Linked DNA regions of Homo sapiens: all the other regions are linked to region 1. Evidence: promoter capture Hi-C in 16 types of primary human blood cells and fetal thymus (Javierre and others, 2016). All regions are on one chromosome and are shown on one strand. The core of a region is centred on a gene start or on the middle of the fragment in contact, and the rest is flanking DNA. Distances in the headings are between cores, read along the strand shown.

Region 1 (4,557 bases), core at 779-3,278:
AACTCCCTGCAGCCTCTGTCTCCTGGGTTCAAGCAATTATCGTGCTTCAGCCTCCCAGGCAGCTGGGATTACAGGCGGATGCCACCATTCCTGGCTAATTTTTTTTTTTTTTTTTTGTATTTTTAGTAGAGACGGGGTTTGGCCATGTTGGACAGGCTGGTCTGGAACTCCTGACCTCAAGTGATCCGCCAGCCTCGGCCTCCCAAAGTGCCGGGATTACAGGTGTGAGCCACCGTACCTGGCCTTCCTATGCTTTTTTGTTAAACTCTTCCACAGGACTTTAATAGTTCCTGCTAAATTTCAACTTGTTAGATTTAGTCTCTGCTCAGTTTGTCATGCAGTAGATAAGGCAACCCTTCCTGCTTCAGGTCATCCACAACTTCCATGACTGCTGCTGTATTCTTATCCAAGTCACTGATGGCACCCTGAATTGGCTGGCCAGGGCAGGAGGTTTGGGCAGGCCCCTAGCAGCCTCATCTGCTGGTCCCTCCTCTTCATCAGCCACCTCTGGGCTAGTCTTTAATAAGCCTCAGTGCTATCATCCAGCATTGATTTCACTTTCGCATCTAAGATGTGAATTGTCAAATGCCCTGTTGAAATCTGCATTTGCTGTATCTGCAGCATCCGCCTACCTGGTACTCCTGCAAAAAAGAAAGATACTGTGTAAATCTGGTATTCTCTTTTCCTTTAGTGTTTAATCACAAAATTTCACTTAGTGCTGATTAAGCTCACTGGCCTGTAATTTTCATCTCCATCTTCTGTCCTGTGAAAATTCAGCACTGCTTGCCCTTTTAGGACTTCTGGCACTTTGCCTGATTTTCCCAGATTTCCAAGGGAGGAACTCAGTGGGTTTTCACTCTCGTCTTGTTTAAACCTTACATCCAGTTTGGCAGATGATATGCCCATTTGTTTTATCCCGTAATTCATGCCGCCAGATTTTTTGGCATCAGGATCACAATCCTACTCATCTGAAACCTACTTAGGTGGTGCTTTTCTGCCACATTCCACTTCCTTGTGATATTTAGAAATGTCTTGTTAGCCTGTTTCCATAGAGAATGGCAAGAGCCCTCAAGTAGAGGCCACACCTAAAATTAAGCTTGATAATGGAATGTATGTTTTTCCTTCGGTTACTCTCCGCTCTTTCCCTTTTCCATCCCCTTTCCTTTTATTTTTCTCCCCGCTCTGCACCTGCCAGCTGGCCCCCAAGGAAATTAAGGGCTCCTCTTCTGGTGTGAAATGCTGGCTCCCTGAAAACATCATTTTAAAAAGCATGTTAATAAAGCAAAGCCAAGTGTATTATGCACTGCGGTCAAGAGCACTACTTCACAGTCTTTAGTCTTCGGAGGAGGAGGGGGAAATGCAGGATATTTATGAGGATTCTGGGGTCTTCCTTAAGGCTAGTCTTTCAATGCAGGGCTTGAGTAGGGTTAGGCCAAGTTCATGATATAATGGTCCAAGGTTGGGGAATAAATTAGAAGTACCGAATGTTATCTTCTAGCCTTGGGTCCTTGGGTGGGTTTCTTAAATTTTTTGAGCTTCAGGTTCCTCATCTGTGAAAGGGTTAGATAAGATTCAGTGAGATAATGTGTGACTCTGGCACATGGTGAGCTCTAGATAAATGGCGCTTTTGTGTCCATCAGTCTCATTCCCAAAGCCTAGGCTTTCGGGTCGGTCATCCGGCTGCCCGACCCGCGACGGCGCAGGGGAATCGGCGAGCGTGGCGGGGTGCTGCGCTGCGCCCCTCAGCCGGCAGAGGCCGCCAGCGCGCCCTCGGTCCGGACGGTGCCCGCCCCTGCCACCGCCTCCCCGCGCATGGCTGCCCCGGCGGCTGCCTGACCGCCGCCCGCCACCTCGGCGGCCTCGCAACCCGTGGGAGCCCGTGGCCATCGCAGACCTAGAGGACACGTTGGGCGGCGCAGTCGCCGCGGCAAGGTCGGCGGGCGGCGCGGCGCGAGGGACGGCGAGCGGGGGGCGGCCCGGCCCGGGTCCTCGCGGGTCCTCGGCGGGCCCGGGGGAGGGCCCTCTTTGTGGCTGCAGTTGGCAAGATGGCGCCGGTGGGGGTGGAGAAGAAGCTGCTGCTAGGTCCCAACGGGCCCGCGGTGGCGGCCGCCGGCGACCTGACCAGTGAGGAGGAGGAAGGCCAGAGCCTATGGTGAGGCCGCGGGCGGTCGGGCCGGGCCGTGGGGGGCGCGGCCTCTGGGCCGGACCGTCGGACACACTGAGGGGCCGACGCGAGCCGGGCCATCCCAGCCCGGCCCGGGGCTGACCACTCTTGCCATTGTCGCCACAGGTCCTCCATTCTGAGCGAAGTGTCCACCCGCGCCAGGTCCAAGCTGCCGTCCGGCAAGAACATCCTGGTCTTCGGTGAGCGCCGGCGGCGGGGCGTTGCCCCAGGTCGCTGGGGTGGGCGAGGCGGGCGCCCCTCCCTCAGGTCCCCGCCTTCCCCGTTCCAGCCGCCTGCCCGCAGCCTGGCGGGAAAGGGACCGTCGGCCCTGGCCGGTCAGCTGGAGAGTGGTCAAGCCTCCAGCGCCTGAGGGTGGGATGCTGCCCTCTTTGGAGAGCGTAGTGGTGCTTTGGGGTTGTCGGCATATTGTTTCAGTCACTTGGCCCTCTATGCCTTCATTGCCTCGACGGTTACCAAATTGAGGTCGTGGAGAGGGGAAGCTAGTAGATGAGATTAGGTGGAGAAGGTGGGAGAACGAGGTGACCTGGGCTCGGAGCTGTGGGGAAATGACCACGGGAGCCTTCTTTGAGCCTCATCAGTAGTGCATAGTCCGAGGTTTTAGGGACTTTGCAGAGGACAGAGAGTCAGCACTGGGGACGTTTCCTCCATTATGCTAGCCCTCACTGCTAGGTTACCTGAGTCAGGTCCCTTACTCCCTCTGGCCTCACTCTCCTCAAGTGAGGGAGTTTGGGTACATTCACACAGCAAGTCCATTTGTTGCTTGGGACCTGTGGGCTGGGCACAGGCTCAGCATAGGCGACTCTTAAACACTATAGAAGAATCTCAGTCTGGTGGAAGACAGATGTATTGGTGATTGCATTGCACCATGCCGATTATTGTGGAAGCATTACACTGCTTAGAGCTGGTGAAGGAGGATGATTCGGGGGTTGAGTATTTTGCAGAAAAGTGTCAGTATGCAGGGACACAGATGACAAGAGGGTGTGGGGTTTGGAAACTGCTAGAAGCGCCTTGTGGTTGGTGGCTGCTAAGGTAAGTTGGGGGCAGATTGTGGGAAGGCTGAAGAGTTAGTGCTGTTTCCTGAAGTTCTCTGATTTTTCAAATGGCTTTTATCTCACCTCCATCCCCCAATTCCCATGGGAATCACTGCCTTGGTAGTTTTCCTACTGTTAGAATGTGTGACCTTTCTCAGGAATTGACTGTGGTAGGTAATACCGGACCCTTAGAGATCTTCAAGAAGTGGGGGATCAAGATCACCAGATCTGAGTTTTAGAAAGAACGCTGCCTGCAGAGGGACAGTAGCTCAAAATGAGCAGGTACTGAAGTCAGGCTGACAGGTCCTCACCTTGGTCTGGATGCAGAGGGCCTGAATAAGGTAGAGGCATTGGAGATGGAGAGGAGGTCTTTGATCTGTGGACTGACTGCCTTTCAATTCTCATGTTCTGTAATTCCATATTATTAAATGGCAGAAGTGCCTAGTAATGTTTGGCGATGGTTCTCCTTGATGTTTAAGGATCCGGGGAAGGGGGGTGTTGTTTGGGTGGAGGGAGATGAAGAAGTGCTTAATAATTAACTGAGATTGTACTGAAGAGTTTTGCTAGGTCTATAATTATTTTCGTCAGTTTCTTAGCCTTCAGAATGTTTGTGAAGGAGATGTACTAAAATCAAAAGTGAATAACTTCCATTCTTCACCATTGTGAAGCAGGATCAGACTTTTTTTAGTTCACAGTACCTGGACTTTTAGGTTAATTGTATCATATTTTGAAGATTTCTTGTTTTTCTTGTGGTGAAACTTTTTCTTGTGAGAAACTAACCCTACCTTTTACTTTCACTTCTCCGAATGCATGTCTTATAAATTATAGATAGGGCCTGTGGACCTGCCTCATTATTTCCCTTTTGAAGTAAGGATAACTGCAGTAGAATGTCATTTTAGATCTTGGAATTTGCTGCCTTTACCACCCTCTCCTCCCCACCCTCCCAACCACTCTTCCAGCAAAGTCCTTTGTTTATGAAAGCAGGTGAGACTTCAACAGCAGACTTTGCATGAAATTCTTAGTTTCTCCGTGTCATGTGAGTGTCATGCCTCCCCATCCTTGCCCGGAATAAACAGTACACCTTTGTCTTGCAAACATCCTTTGTAGGTGAAGATGGTTCTGGTAAAACAACCCTCATGACTAAACTACAAGGAGCTGAGCATGGCAAAAAAGGAAGAGGCCTAGAATATCTCTACCTCAGTGTCCATGATGAGGACCGAGATGGTGAGTGAAGCATTGGTCCCATGGTAAGGGGGTGTATGCAGGACTCTGACTGCTTCCTTGGGTGCAGTTCCTGCAGCATGGCCAGGCATTCTCAGTTTTCTGTTTGGTTCTCAGAGA
Region 2 (4,557 bases), core at 1,412-3,911, 3.8 Mb before region 1:
GGATAACGTATCCAAATGTTTACCTCCAAGCCCAAATGCAGTTCTCATCTTCAGACCCCATCTTCAGACCTATAATACATCAAATCACCTACTGGACATGGACCTTCCACCGGTATTTTTAAAATACAGTGTGTTCAGGCTGGGCATGGTGGCTCATGCCTGTAATCCCAGCACTTTGGGAGACCAAAGGCAGATCACCTGAGGTCAGGAGTTCGAGACCAGCCTGGCCAACACGGTGAAATCCCGTCTCTACTAAAACTACAAAAATTAGCCAGGCATGGTGGTGGGCGCCTGTAATCCCAGCTACTCGGGAGGCTGAGGCAGGAGAACTGCTTAAACCCAGGAGGTGGAGGTTGTAGTGAGCCAAGATCGTGCCACTGTGCTCTAGCCTGGGCAACAGTGCGAGATTCTGTCTCAAGAACGTAAATAAATAAAATAAAAATAAAATAAAGTAACAGCATGTTCATAAACAAACTCAAGTTCCTTCCCAACCCTGCTCCACCTCCTAGATTCTCCACCTTAGAGAATACTACCATCAACAGACCAAACCAGACACCTGAGTATAATCCTTCAATTCTCTCTCCTCCCAAAGCCCTATTGATTCTACCTCCTTAGCAGCTACCAGTATCTCTTAATGTCCTCATCAGTCTCCCCTCTTACAGTCTTAATATCCTCCATTTCATTAGCCAAAATGTAAGCAATTAATCTTTCTAAGGTTGTCAACCTATCAGATTATTTCCCTACTTAGAATCCTTCAGTAGCTTTCACCCCACCCCTACTCCTACCCCAGTCCCTTAATAATTAAATCATAATGAGCTTTTAATTATTTGAATGGACCATGTTATTTCTTGTATTTAGGCTTTTGTAAATGCTGTTCCCTTTGCCTACAACTGAAACTTCCTCTCCCACTCCAACTGCACCTAGCTAACTTCTAACTAGCCCTCAGATCTCAGCTTAGAGACTCCAGCAAGCTTTCTGTAACACATTCGTTTCCTTTCCCTGTTTAGGGAACCTCTTCTCTGTGCTGTCATGGCATTTGGCACAGTTTCTGGTAATTGTTTTGGTTATTTATCTGTATTCACCACCAGACTCAATCTTGCACAAAGGCGGCACCACGTCTAATTTTTCACCACTGAAGTCCCAAGATCCAGCAGACTGACTTAGCACATACTGACTGCAAAGGCTCAATAAAAATGTGTTGAAAGAATGAAAAAGCCCTTGTAAATGAAAGGTATGGTAATATGTTACAAGTAATGAGATGTGTGATCAAAAATTCATCTGCTTAACGTATTAACAAAGGTAAGTGCTGTCCTTTATTTTTATTCTCCAGTATCTTCCCCAAACAACATCTTATTTTAGACATCAGTTGAAGTGCAAATGATTCAAAATAGAACTAGATCAGTTTTCCCCAAGCCTGCTGAAATGCAGATGACCACAAATGTAGCTGTACTCATTTAGTCTTTTAATATAATCAATTAGTAACGTGTATTTTCCAATGGTGAACTGATTTCCAACCATGAAAATATTTTCCATTTTTTAGCTCCTCCAAAAACGTTACTTAGCTATGTGCATTTAAAACACTGAATCTGATTTGCTGGAATGTTAGCTTTTCCTATCTACAACCGTATGAACTAGCCTGCAAATTTTTTTTGTTACTGTCCATCCCTAGTTTTGATACTGTAGTCATACTAGACTCAGAGAGCGGCACAGTAGCATTTACTCTTTTTCTACTCTAGAGAAATCTGTTTTACTTTTTTTTTTAATATTTACTTTTTCATTGAGACAAGATCTCACCTTGTTTCCCAGGATGGTCTCAAACTCCTGAGATCAAGTGATGCTCCTGCCTCAGCCTCCTAAAGTGCTAGGGTTATAGGCGTGAGCCACCATGCCCAGCCGAGAAACTTGTTTTAAAACGGAATACATATATGTCCCTCAACAAGAAGATAAAAGCTTTCCTGAAAATCCTGGACCTCAATCTTTTGGGAGAGTGACTTTGGACTACTGCTTCAATTTCTCTAACGCTGGTCTATTGAAGTTCTTAATTTATTTTTGGATCAATCTGGTAATCGTCTTCAAAAATATTTCTATTTTGTTTAAGTTTTCAAATTCACAAGTTCCATCTTGTGGGGTCTGTCCATTTTGTTTGGCTTTTGAAAGAGTTAGGTTTGAATGAGAGGCAAAGACTGACTACAGCCAAACTGTCACAGCAACTAACAGTAATCAATATTCCAAGCTGACTGCTCCCTTCAACTTCTCTTCCCTGCCCTCAGTAGAATATGAGTTATTAAGGAGCTAGGCAGTCTTTATCCCCAACACTTTTTAAAATCACTCCACCACATGAACTTCTAACCTGTCCAAAAGATAAGGTATTCAGGTTCACAACAAATGGATTAATTCCCAAACCCTTTAAGTAAAACCTATTAGGTTTGGGCATAAAATGAACCAAGTAAAAGGGTACAAAGCAGCTCTGAAAGAAAAGTACCTGTAATAAGGAAGTTGCCGTGTTCCTCCAAAGGTTCACTGTATTTTCGGACCACATGATTTAAACCAAGGTCTAGCTCATAGAAAGTAAGTGTCTGCTGGGTATTAGCTGCTGCTTCCCCTGTTGGATCATTGTCTGCTTCCTACAGAGAATAGTGGCATAAAAACTAATCATCAGCATAAAATCGAAGATCTGGAAAGGACATCAGGACTCCAATTTACAAATGAGGAAACAGAAGTCCACAAATGTCTTCTTTTTTTTTTGGAGAGACAGGTTCTCACTATGTCACCCAGGCTGCAGTGCACAGAGGTATGATCTTTTTTTTTTTTTGAGACGGAGTTTTGCTCGTTGCCCAGGCTGGAGTGCAATGGCACGATCTCAGCTCACCACAACCTCCACCTCCCAGGTTCAAGTGATTCTCCTGCCTCAGCCTCCCGAGTTGCTGGGATTACAAGCATGTGCCACCACGCCTGGCTAATTTTGTATTTTTAGTAGAGATGGGGTTTCTCCATGTTGGTCAGGCTGGTCTCGAACTCCTGACCTCAGGTGATCTGCCCGCCTCGGCCTCCCAAACTTGGATTACAGGCGTGAGCCACTGTACACGACTGCAGTGGTACAATCTTATCTCACTGCAGCCTAGAATTCCTGGGCCTCAGGCTCCCAAGCAGCTAGGACTATAGGCACATGCCACCACACCTGGCTGACGCCAAATAGTTTGACAAAGTTTATGCTATAAGATAATGGCAGAGCTAGAACGAGAACTGCAATCTCCAAATTCTGGATCCAGGGAGCTCTCTACTAGAGGATACTGCCTTCCGTTAAAGGAAAACAATAGTATGTTCTGTGAAAAAATACCTTAAACATAGCTTCAAGTTTTTCATGAAGCTTTTCCCAATAAATATCTTGTTTCCATAGGGAGATTACTTAAATCAGAGAAAGACTATTAAATAGTTGCTTAACCTCTGAAGCATCCCAAAGAATTTCAGTAAGGCATTTGGAATATGAAGATCTGCTAGCAGGACAGAATTAAGATATGCATAAGGGGCTGGGCCTGGGTGAGGTGGCTCAGGCCTTATAATCCCAGCACTCTGGAAGGCTGAGGTGGGCCAATCACCTGGGGTCAGAAGACCAGCCTGGCCAACATAGTGAAACCCCATCTCTACTAAAAATACAAAAATTAGCTGGGCGTTGTGGCAGCACCTGTAGTCCCAGCTACTCAGGAGGCTGAGGCAGAGGTTGCAGCGAGCTGAGATTGTGCCACTGCACCCCAGCCTGGGCAACAGAGCAAGACTGTCTCAAAAAAAAGAAAAAAAGGTATGCACAAGGAAGAAAACGATCTTTTCGTTTTTTTTTGAGATGGAGTCTCACTCTGTCGCCCAGGCTGGAGTGCAGTGGCGAGATCTCGGCTCACTGCAAGCTCCACCTCCCGGGTTCACGCCATTCTCCTGCCTCAGCTTCCCGAGTAGCTGGACCACAGGCGCCCGCCACGATGCCCGGCTATTTTCTTTTTGTATTTTTAGTAGAGATGGGGTTTCACTGTGTTAGCCAGAATGGTCTCGATCTCCTGACCTCATGATCCGCCAGCCTTGCCTCCCAAAGTGCTGGGATTACAGGCGTGAGCCACCACGCCCGGCCGGAAAACAATCTTAAAAAAAAACACTGAGGTGACTGAAAGAAACGCAAAGAGACAGGGTCCCCATTACCTCATAATCCATTTCCAGACAAGCAAACATTGGATTTTCAAATCCGACATCTACTCCAACTACATGATACACTAAAGTGTTTGCTTTGTGGGCTTCCAGGGGAGATGAAATGGTAAGTCGGGCTGCAGCATCTCTGTTCAAAATATACACCAATTTCTGTTTCTCAATGGCACCTGTAGTTGAAGGAGATAAAACATACAAGATTCCCAGATAATGAGAAGAGAGACTTATAGAACAGCTAGAGTCACATCATGCTTTTCTTTTAATCATTATTAACAGCAGTAACTCTACAAGTATAAAAACTCAGGATTCTGTTTTCTATCATCAGAATAGCACTTTGGGAGGCTGAGGTGGGTGGATCACCTGAGGTCA
Region 3 (4,557 bases), core at 961-3,460, 3.0 Mb before region 1:
AAATGTTACACTTTTTATTCCTGAAAAATTATGTAAAAATAAAACTTTCAGTTGGGCATGGTGACTTACACCTGTAATTGCAACACTTTGAGAGGCCGAGGTGGGAGGATCGCTTGAGCCCCGGAGTTTGAAAACAGCCCGGGCAACATAGCAAAACCCCTGTCTCTACAAAAATTAGCCAGGCGAGGTGGCACCCACCTGTAGTCCCAGCTGTTTGGGAGGCAGACATGGGAGGATCACCCGAGCCCAGGCAGGTCAAGGTTACAGTGAGCCGTGATTGTGCCACTGCACTCCAGCCTGGGCAACAGAGTAAGATCCTGTCTCAAAATAAAATAAAAATAAAATTTTCTATTGTGTCAATAAATGAAAAAGAATGGATCTAAGGATTAAGGGTCTGGGCTTGAGTCCCTACTCATTTACTAGCTCTGAAATCTAAAGTAAGGACTTCATTAAGCCTCAGTCTCTTCATGTGATATAGGGACAATACTGACCATCCCAATTTCAAAGGGAAGGTTAAGTGAGATGTTGGTATACGCTCTTTGTAAATGGGAAAGTAATCATGAAGTGAAAGAGACTGAGAAGCCAATCCAAGCCTTTCTCTCGAGCCTGTTTTCATATGGACCAATGACACAGATAATCACAAGCTTCTCTGACAAGAAAAAGAGTAGAAGACTTGGGTTCAAATCCTTTGTCACCACTTACGCCGGTGTGACTTTTAGAAATGCATTTATTCACCAAATATTTATCAAGTGCTCACAACATGCCAGGCACTAGGCTAGCAGCCAAATAAAATATGAAACCTGCCCTTGAAGGATTTGCAATCTAGCAGGAAGAGGCCAGCAAACAAGAAAGAGCAATAAATTGTTTTAAAAAATCAAGTCGTCTCTCGTAAGTCTGTTTGTTCCCTGTGAAATGAGAATACATCTTCCCAACCTCACTCATAGGCGCTGCTGCAAAAACTAATTTTTAAATGTTTGTCAAATAACTCCAAAAACTTGAACTCATAATACATTAGGAAAGTACTTTTTCCTACTTGTAACCCAAAACGATGCTGGCTGCTGTGAATGTCCAGTTTGAACATTCGTTCCAGTTACACTGCACTCATGAAACTCCTTTTGCTTCTGCAAATTTTAGTAAACATGAGAAACAGGAAGATGAACAGGCTTTAACACAAGTATTCAATCTCAAAATCATGATCCAGGTCACAGTTCTAAGGAACATAACACAGACCTCTCAGGCACCCTACCTAGTTACAGTTCGTCAAGATAAGCAGTCACAAGATAAGCTAAGGGAAACTGAATAATTTAAACGGAAGAAAGAGAAAAGTCATAAAGCAGTCTAGGTAGACACTTCTCTGTCCAAGATTTCAGCAGTCACTATGTTGCTGAGGTAACGCTGGGCTAGGTCAACAGTGTAAGCTAAAAGCCATTTTACAGGCAAAGTGCCCACACTTATTTTTTTAATTTATTTTCTTTTTTTGTTTTTTAAAGCCTCGATGATGGCCCGTTCAGGGAAAATCTCAAAGAAAAATGAGCTGAAGGGCTAGGCTCCCAAGAAGTGGAAACCCTACCCACGCAGGACTAAGTGGGCGCGAGGGAAGCAAGACGATCAAGATTCTGTGATCCCTCCTGAAGTTTAAAAACTGAATGGGACCGTCATCAAAGTCTCGGGTAACAATCATTTCCAAACAGGAAGGAAGGGAGAGACTCTCAGAGGGGGTCCAGGCAGCATCTTTTTCCCTCTGGCTCCACGCCATAAACCCATTTTCAGGCACCCCCTTCCAGCTCAGTTCCAAGTCGCCCCTTCCCCTGGTCCCGATCCCTCCACAAAGATCGCTCCTCTCCATGCCTGGGAACCTAAGCTCCTCTCCCCTTCCGGGAGGACTCGCTCCAGCTGCACCCTTGGCGGCCGGGGCACCCATTTCGGAGCAACCCCCGCGCGGGCCGCGGCGCGCCCACCCCACTCGGGCGGGAGCCGGGACACCCCTCCTCGGAGGCCGGAACCGCCGCGCCAGGCCCCTCCCACAGGAAGCCGCCGCCCCCCGACGCCCGGGCCGCGCCGCCCCCGGCCCACCCCGCGCCGCCCGCCGCCCCCGGCCCGCCCCGTGCAGGCAGCCAGCCCACCGCGCCCCCCGCGCCAGCGCTCGCTACCTGCCGTGGCCACAGAAGCGGCGCCGAACTCCTCTCCTACTTCCGCCTTCCACCGCCCGCACTCGGGCCGGGTCACGTGACCGCGCGCGGTCACCTGACCCGGAAGAGGCTGGCCAGGCTCGCAGGTGCGGGCCACCTAGGCCTGGCCTGGGCACCTCTGGCCTCGAGGAGGCCTTTTTATCGTCTCTGTAGTTGAAAGTGGAAGGGTTTCTGCTCACCGGATGGTCCCAGGCAATCAAATAAATTGAGGGCTCACTGAATGCCACCTACTCTGCCCATCAACCTTATAGAGGCAGGGACAGGTACTAGCCCCATTTTACAGGTGAAACGAGACCTTCAGACTGTTAAGTCAGCAAATACTTAATTGAGCTCCTTTAGTAGGGTTGCCAGATAAAGTACAGGACACCCACTTAAATTTGAATTTCAGATAAACAACAGTGTAATATGTATGTCCCAAATACAGAATGGGACATATTTATACTAAAAAAAGTATTTTTTGATTATCTGAAGATCAAATTGAATTGAGTATCTGTATTTCTATTTCCTGGCAACCTTATGCCTATTATGTGCCAGGCACTGTTCTAAGATCCAGGACCACAAACATCTCAGCCTTTGTGGGGCATCTGTCCTTGTGACATGAAGCAAAAGTACAAAAGCTTAAAAACTCCTGCTTGGCTCCATAAAAAGCCCCTCCACACTAATCCAATCGCATTCCCTTAATCTACAACTACAGGGCACAGAGAACTTAATGAATTATAATCCAGGTAGGTAGGTAGGTAGGTAGGTGGATAGATAGATGATATTTTTTTTTTTTTTTTTGAGATGGAGCCTCGCTCTGTCGCCCAGGCTGGAGTGCAGTGGTGCAGTCTCAGCTGACTGCAACCTCCGTCTCGCCGGTTCATGCAATTCTCCTGCCTCAGCCTCCCGAGTAGCTGGGATTACAGGCGTGCACCACCACGCCTGGCTAATTTTTGCATTTTTAGTAGAGACAGGGTTCCTCCATGTTGACCAGTCTGGTCTCGAACACCTGACTTCAAATGATCCGCCCACCTTGGCCTCCCAAAGTGCTGGGATTACAGGCATGAACCACCGCACCTGGCAGAGAAATATTTTTTTTAAGAGATGGGTCTGGATAGGTTGCTTTGGCTGGGCTCGAACTCCCAGCTTCAAGCAGTCCTCTTGCTTCAGCCTCCCAAGTAGCTGAGACTACAGGCGAATGCCACTGTGCCTGCCCAATAACTTTATTTATTTATTTATTTATTTATTTATTTGCTTGCTTGAGACAGAGTTTCACTCTTGTAGCCCAGGCAGGAGTGCAGTGGCTCAATCTTGGCTCACTGCAACCTCTGCCTCCCAGGTTCAAGCAATTCTCCTTCCTCAGCCTCCTGAGTAGCTGGGACTACAGGCACCCACCACCATGCCTGGCTAATTTTTGTATTTTTAATAGAGATGGGGTTTCACCATGTTGGCCAGGCTGGTCTCAAACTCCTAACCTCAGATGATCCACCTGCCTTGGCCTCCCAAAGTGCTCAGATTATAGGCGTGAGCCAATGCGCCCGGCCTCCAAGAACATTTTAAATAGACATTCTTGACTGATGTTCTGGACAAGTTGAATGAAGGCTCAGTTTAATCACCATTGATTAAAATTAATACTAATGACGTAATTAGCCTCAAAGACTTGTACTAATCTGTTATTTTTGGGTCTTCGAATTGGGATGGATTCTATCATGCATACAAATTAAATTGGCTGGTGGGGCGTGGAGGCTCACGCCTGTAATCCCAGCACTTTGGGAGGCAGAGGCAGGTGGATTACCTGAGGTCGGGAGTTCGAAACCCACTTGGCCAACCTGGTGAAACCCCATCTCTACTAAAACTACAAAAAAAAAAAAAAAAAAGATTCGCCGGGCATGGTCCGGGTGCGGGTAATCCCAGGTACTCCAGAACCTGAGGCAGGAGAATTGCTTGAACCCGGGAGGCGGAGGTGGCAGTGAGCCATGATAACGCCTCTGCACTCCAGCCTGGGCGACAGAGTGAGACTCTGTATCTAAATAAATAAATAGGTTGAACACTTAGTCTCTACTTTTTGTAGTACCACTCCAAATCCAAGAGATTAACTTTCAAGGAGATACAGTCCTGTCTTTGTACATTAAACCCTATATTAGTCTCATTTATAAAACTACTATAACTAAAACTTCTCCAGTTCCATTGATGGCAGTTTTACTAATTCTGTTCTAGATAAATTAGAGACTATTTCCTTGACTTACTAGCATTTGTTGGTTTCGGTTTGTTTTCTTCTTTCATATTTCATTTTTTATCTTTTGTTGCTTTTTTTTAACAACCCTGCAGAAAAGATTTAGTGGCATCTGAGTAAGTGTTCACCAAAGGGGAGAAGGGACAAGCAAAGAGC

What was found. The method cuts DNA at HindIII sites, captures the fragments that hold promoters and counts their contacts. A CHiCAGO score of 5 or more calls a contact.
Region 2: a contact is called between a fragment that was not itself captured here and the fragment with the promoter of DYNC1LI2 in region 1, in 5 of 17 cell types (naive CD8 T cells, total B cells, non-activated CD4 T cells and 2 more). The highest score is 7.8, in naive CD8 T cells.
Region 3: a contact is called between the fragment with the promoter of WWP2 here and the fragment with the promoter of DYNC1LI2 in region 1, in 5 of 17 cell types (activated CD4 T cells, monocytes, non-activated CD4 T cells and 2 more). The highest score is 8.7, in activated CD4 T cells.

What each region holds. Positions count from the first base shown.
Region 1 is chr16:66,749,080-66,753,636 of GRCh38, reverse strand. DYNC1LI2 (dynein cytoplasmic 1 light intermediate chain 2) reads left to right here and starts at 2,028. Exons shown (of 13, transcript NM_006141.3): 1 at 2,028-2,152; 2 at 2,291-2,364; 3 at 4,324-4,440. The coding sequence starts at 2,046. It overlaps DYNC1LI2-DT (DYNC1LI2 divergent transcript), which reads right to left and starts at 1,885. Exons shown (of 2, transcript NR_133569.1): 1 at 737-1,885; 2 at 1-641. RefSeq lists an enhancer at 1,672-2,387 and a silencer at 1,601-2,400. The HindIII fragment of the contact is 3,643 bases long and covers 1,099-4,557 here.
Region 2 is chr16:70,530,546-70,535,102 of GRCh38, reverse strand. It overlaps SF3B3 (splicing factor 3b subunit 3), which reads right to left. Exons shown (of 26, transcript NM_012426.5): 4 at 4,186-4,358; 5 at 2,483-2,624. Among named protein-coding and RNA genes, the nearest start is that of SNORD111B, 3.3 kb to the right of the region's middle. The HindIII fragment of the contact is 1,417 bases long and covers 1,953-3,369 here.
Region 3 is chr16:69,759,985-69,764,541 of GRCh38, reverse strand. It overlaps WWP2 (WW domain containing E3 ubiquitin protein ligase 2), which reads right to left and starts at 2,210. Exons shown (of 24, transcript NM_001270454.2): 1 at 2,151-2,210. RefSeq lists silencers at 1,734-1,783, 1,804-1,963, 1,984-2,123 and an enhancer at 1,827-2,405. The HindIII fragment of the contact is 2,162 bases long and covers 647-2,808 here.